Regions from separate parts of the Homo sapiens genome. Here region 1 is linked to region 2. The links are contacts of gene promoters, found by promoter capture Hi-C in human tissues and cell types (Jung and others, 2019). All regions are on one chromosome and are shown on one strand. Each heading gives the region's core, a stretch centred on a gene start or on the middle of the fragment in contact. The rest is flanking DNA. Distances are from core to core; before and after follow the strand shown.

Evidence for each region. The method cuts DNA at HindIII sites, captures the fragments that hold promoters and counts their contacts. A contact is called where the count stands out against the background at its distance.
Region 1: a contact is called between a fragment that was not itself captured here and the fragment with the promoter of KRT17 in region 2, in 1 of the 25 tissues and cell types used here (dorsolateral prefrontal cortex).

Annotation. Positions count from the first base shown.
Region 1 is chr17:40,904,808-40,907,791 of GRCh38, reverse strand. The region is part of intron 1 of LOC105371777 (a long non-coding RNA gene); the gene reads right to left. Among named protein-coding and RNA genes, the nearest start is that of KRT20, 21 kb to the right of the region's middle. The HindIII fragment of the contact is 3,141 bases long and covers 148-2,984 here.
Region 2 is chr17:41,622,758-41,625,944 of GRCh38, reverse strand. KRT17 (keratin 17) reads left to right here and starts at 1,370. Exons shown (of 8, transcript NM_000422.3): 1 at 1,370-1,867; 2 at 2,913-2,995. The coding sequence starts at 1,436. The HindIII fragment of the contact is 8,196 bases long and covers 1-3,187 here.

The DNA of each region.
Region 1 (2,984 bases), core at 469-2,968, 720 kb after region 2:
TGGGAGGCTGAGGCGGGCAGGTCACGATGTCAGGAGATCGAGACCATCCTGGCTAACACGGTGAAACCCCATCTCTACTAAAAATACAAAAAATTAGCCAGGTCTGGTGGTGGGCGCCTGTAGTCGCAGCTACTCGGGAGGCTGAGGCAGGAGAATGGCGTGAACCCGGGAGGTGGAGCTTGCAGTGAGCCAAGATTGCACCACTGCACTCCAGCCTGGGGGACAAGAGTGAGACTCTGCCTCAAAAAAAAAAAAAAAAAGAAAAGAAAAGAAAAGAAAACTAGGGATGGAAAGAAAGGAATGAAAGAGGGAAGGAAGGAAAACAGGAAAGGAAAGGAAAGAAAAAAGAAAAGAAAAGGGAAGGGAGACAGAGAGGGAGGGGGGAAGGAAGAATAAAGAAAGAGAGAGAGAGAAAGAAAGAAAGAGAAAGGCAAGCAGGGAGGGAGGGAGGGAGGGAGGAAGGAAGGAAGGAAGGAAGGAAGGAAGGAAGGAAGGAAGGAAGGAAGGAAAGGAGGGAGGGAGGGAAGGAGCTCTACAGCCACACAGCATATCCATCCGTTACAGGAGCAAATAAGAAAGTCAATCTTCCAGCAGAGGAAGCCAGAGCTAAATAAACACTTTAAATGTCATGAAATAAGACTTCAGAGCCCAAATGTTCCATTTTCTATTCAATAATACTATTTCCTTAAAGGTCTTGGTAACAGAGTTACCCCACGTATCTTGACCCCATATCCTGTGTTCATTCCCAGAACAAAGCTGACATGAATGATTCTTGTATGATCATTTACCAACAGAAACATGCAATCAAATTTCTTATTTTAATTAAGAAACATGGCACAATACATTTTAATTGGTAGTAGACACCATAAAAACAAGAAGGATTAAAAACACAAAGAAATGTCTTCCTCTTTAAAACAGATAATTTGGACTCCTCCTGTTCATCCATGCATTCACTTAATAACCATGGACAGCGTGCTTTCTATGTTAGATGCTGTATCCCCTAACACCCCTTTATAGCTCTTCATTGAGGTCTAGATATTTTGGCCCATGCTTCGGATGCAGCATTTCATGGGACACCCTGATGGATCTCCTGTGCTGTGCTTCCTTCTGTGGCTGTGGGTGCCACGCTGGAGCAATGCTTAGGAGGAGCGGAGTATTTCCAGGTGAGCCCCTACACTCACTGCACCTCCCATGCTCACTCTTCAACACACATTTGTTGGTAAAGGTCCAGTCCTCAAGCTTCAAGGTTTAGAAATTTTATTTTACCAAGGTTGGTCAGGAGCTAAGGGAATGGAGCCAGCTAAACCCAAGGAACAAGAAGCCCCCGTTCATTTACAATGGAAGTTGTCTTGCTGTTGTTTTGCCATTATACCATGAACCTGTCTTGGAATCAATGTGCCTGCACACTGAATTAGGTATCAGAAAATTGGTGATCATGGAATAAGGTAAAGGATTGAAAGGCATTTTTCTTAGGAACGCTTTTATACTGTTGGTGGGAGTGTAAATTAGTTCAACCATTGTGGAAGACAGTGTGGCGATTCCTCAAAGATCTACAACCAGAAATACCATTTGACTCAGCAATCCCATTACTAGGTATATACTCAAAGGATTATAAATCATTCTGCTATAAAGACATATGCAGACATATGTTTATTGCAGCACTGTTCACAATAACAAAGACTTGGAACCAACCCAATTGCCCATCAATGATAGACCAGATAAAGAAAATGTGGCACAGATACACAATGGAATACTATGCCGTCATAAAAAAGGATGAGTTCATGTCCTTTGCAGGGACATAGATGATGCTGGAAAGCATCATTCTCAGCAAACTAACACAAGGACAGAAAACCAGACACCGTGTGTTCTCTCTCATAAGTTGGGGTTGAACAGTGAGAACACATGGACACGGGGGGTGGGAGGCGCATCACATACTGGGGACTGTCGGGGCGTGGAGGGCTGTGGGAGGAGAGCATTAGGACAAATATCTAATGTAGATGACAGGCTGATGCGTGCAGCAAACCACCATGGCGCATCAATACCTATGTAACAAACCTGGATGTTCTGCACCTGTACCCCAGAACTTAAAGTATAATATAAAAAATAGAAAGACATTTTTCTATGGAATGTGAAGGCTACTTCAGTACCAAATAACAGTCTCTTGTGATGAGAGCACCATGTCTGCCAGGCGGCATCTGTTGCACAGCACTCTGCTGTGTCTTCCAGCCTCTGCCTCGTTCCCACTTCAGCCGGGCGTTCCTGCTTACATCTGTGGCAAGCTCTCAGCTAGCTTCTCCTCCCAGACTGAGAATCCTCCTAAACTGCACCTCTTGCCATTTACCCTCTAGGGGACAATAGACTTCTTCATCTTGTACCTGGGTGATACCAGGCTCTCAGAATTCCTAGGGATCAGAGGGGTGGGTAGAAGGACAGGTGGATCAGGTAGATGCATGAAGAGAGGCAACGCCAGTTACTCAGACTCTGCCTGGGCTACCAGAGTCCTGAGCTTCTTGCCCCCATTCGGGAGGTGTTAGGGGTCTCACTCCGAATCATTACTAGTTTGTTCTTTAGCTTTTATTTCCATTTCTTCCGTGTGTGTGTGTGTGTGTGTGTGTGTGTGCTGCCACTGATACTACTTTTCCCTCTCAGCGATTAAAAGAAAAAAAGATACATTTGAAAAAGTGGTGTATTATCTATTCTGTTAATATGATGTCAGTATTTATGAGGTGTGGTCTTTGTGCCTCTTTTTAAAGATATAAGGAATTACTCCATCGCCAAAGTTCGGTGGCTTCTCATATCACAGAGTAAAAGGCAGGTTCCTTGCTGGATGATGGCATCCACATCCCTCACCATTCACCTCCGAATTGCTGAGGTCCTTTCCACCACCCTCCCTTCCATCCCTGAGCACCCCCACATCCCCACTGCTCCACCCACACTCACACCTAAACTGCTATAGACCTTTGCACCTGAGCTGCCATATGGCT
Region 2 (3,187 bases), core at 121-2,620:
TGGTCCATGGCATTGATGAGTGAGAGGGCATGGCAGTGACGCAGCCAGCCCAGGAAACCAGACCGGCTCTGCCCCAGCTCGGGGTGTGTGTGGGGCGGGGTGGCCGCTGTGCGTGTACGCGTAGGGGGCATCCTGTTTGCTTTGGTGGCTTGGCAGCCACTGGGCTATTGAGGAATGTCTCTCGGCTGCTGGCGGGGCCGTCTGGGCCTGTCTGGGAAGTGGAAGCCATCGGCAGTCTGAAACATGACCACATTCCACCCAGCGGGCCTGGCGGGACCCTGGGACCCAGGGCCGGGCTTGGGGTGGTGGGCAGGGCAGGGTGGGGCTGTGGGGTGGGGCACATGGCCCACCTGAGGAGCCACATCTTGGGGAGCCTGGAGTGGGAAGGGGGCTGGCTGGGGTCTCTGTAAGAGCCTCTTCTTGGGCAATGTCCTTTAGGTTTCCTGTGGGCTGAGACCTGAGATAAATACCCGTCACCTGACCCTGAGGTCTCTTGGGGTACAGAAGGGTGAGGGGAGTGGAAGGGGGCATCCCCCTCTCAGTTGGCACAGCCCACCATTTCCCCATCCTATAGCTGAGCCCCTGTTTGCCCACCCCAGCCTGGAGTGTAAACCTGGGGAAAGGTTTACACGAAGAGACTGGGTTAGCAAGGATTTCTAGGGATGGGGCAGGGTCAGAAGCTGACTGGATGGAACTGTAGCCCCTAGAGTGCATTCCTGGGTGTCAGGCTCTGCAGAAGGGGCCAGTGTGGACACGGCACCCCTCTGGAGCCCCAATTTCTTTATCTGTGATGTGGGTTGGTCTCCGAGGCTTGATGGCATTTCTATGCTGTGAGGTGGGCCTGGTGGGTTTGGGCTCAGTTTCCAAGGCAGGATAGGCTCTCGGTCTCCTCTTTCTCTTCAGCACCCAGCCCCGGGGCCAGCACCGTGGGTGGAGCAGTGTGGGGTGAAAGACAGCAACTTTGGCGGGGGGGTCAGCTGACACTGCAACCCATTTCCCCACCAGACAGGGTTGAGGCGGGCCAGGCTGGGGTGGTGGCTGCCTGGGAGGGCCTGGGGACGGTGACGTCCTGCCTTCTCCTCTTCTCCGTATTAGGTCATGGGAAAGCATAGCTGGAGGGCCCGCCTGAATCACAGGTGACGGGCCTGAGACCAGAGGCACGCACACGCACGGCACTCAGCACGAGGATTTGGAGAAATGAGGCAAATTCCTGATGATGGGCGGGGAGGGGGCCCCCAGCCACCTGGGAGCTGGCAGGTGGCCAGTGGTGATGAAAGCCCAGGGGAATGGAAACAGAGGAGCAAGCCTGTTGTAATCGCTACGCCCACTTGGTGGCCTATAAAGGAAGCGGGCGAACCCCGGCAGCCCTACACAACTTGGGGCCCCTCTCCTCTCCAGCCCTTCTCCTGTGTGCCTGCCTCCTGCCGCCGCCACCATGACCACCTCCATCCGCCAGTTCACCTCCTCCAGCTCCATCAAGGGCTCCTCCGGCCTGGGGGGCGGCTCGTCCCGCACCTCCTGCCGGCTGTCTGGCGGCCTGGGTGCCGGCTCCTGCAGGCTGGGATCTGCTGGCGGCCTGGGCAGCACCCTCGGGGGTAGCAGCTACTCCAGCTGCTACAGCTTTGGCTCTGGTGGTGGCTATGGCAGCAGCTTTGGGGGTGTTGATGGGCTGCTGGCTGGAGGTGAGAAGGCCACCATGCAGAACCTCAATGACCGCCTGGCCTCCTACCTGGACAAGGTGCGTGCCCTGGAGGAGGCCAACACTGAGCTGGAGGTGAAGATCCGTGACTGGTACCAGAGGCAGGCCCCGGGGCCCGCCCGTGACTACAGCCAGTACTACAGGACAATTGAGGAGCTGCAGAACAAGGTAGGGCCTGCTGGTGGGAGGGGTCTCCGGGGGGCATGACTTCTTCCCCCCAACTCCTGCCTTGGCCAAAGGCCTGGAGTCCAGCCATAGGGTCTCAGGGAGCCAAGGGTGGTTTGGCTGTGGCTTAGCTTCTGGGAACCTGCCTTGGGGCCCCTGTGTGGCTCACATCCCCCTTTTCTGGGGACAGCAAGCTGAGTCAGGAACAAAGAGGCCTTGTGGAGCCCCTTGGAGCCTCAGTTTCTCCCTCGTGGAGCTCCGCCACCTGGAGAGGTTGTAGGATGAGGCAGGAGGATGCAGATGGAGGGCTGGGCCCGTGGGCTGCTGGATGTGTGGTGTCTTGCTCCTTTGGAGCAGGGGTCAACAGGAGGGGGTTTTGGGTGATGTGGAGTGGGGGTGTCTGAGTGAGCTCCTGATAGCACCTGCTGCAGGAGGAGGCAGAAAGGAGGGGGCGGGACCTCAGTGTGGGGAAGGCCTCTGATGTGCCTTATTTGGGGATTTTTCTGGCTTCTCCTTTCCTCCTGCTGTCCCTTAAGACGGGCTCAGCAAACCCCAGGGGGCGGGGCTGCTGGCTGGCGCCCAGGGTTAGGGATTAGGAGGGGTCCTGACTTTTGATTTGGAACCACTCTTTAATGAGGGCTCCTTTAGCCTCCTTTTGGGGGAGCCTGTCAGGGGCACCCTCTAGCTGACTGTAAAACGAGGGGGTTGCCCACATCCCCTCCCTTGTTCTAGAATTCTGGGACAGCTTCTGCCCTGGGGACATTTTCCCATTCTTTTCTGGTTGCCTCATACTCCCAGCCAGCTGTCTCTTCTCCTTTAAGGCCGAGCCTGCCATGGGGGTCTGGTGGGGTACTGAGTATCGGGGGAAGAAGAGGCACCTTTCAGCCCTTCAGACTCCTGTTTGCCCCTCCTCTGCCAATAATACAGCACGGGGCAAGGGAGGGGCTGGGCGAGAAGAGAGGCCCTGAGGCAGGAAGATCTGCTCAGAACCCTGGTGTGGGCTCAGCCACCCCCATCCAATGACCTGACTACTCTCCCTTCTCCTCAGATCCTCACAGCCACCGTGGACAATGCCAACATCCTGCTACAGATTGACAATGCCCGTCTGGCTGCTGATGACTTCCGCACCAAGTGAGTCCTAGCTGTGGCCTTGGGCAGCCTGGGCCAGCTGGCGGAGGATCTCAGGGTACCCCTCCTGACCCCAGGATTCCTTGGTTGCTTGTGGCAAGGCCCAGGAGCTCAGGGTGGGGCAGTCCTAGGAGCCCCACTCCTTAGTCCAGGATGCAGTGAAGGCAGCCAGTTCTGAAGGTTGCTGAGCTTAGG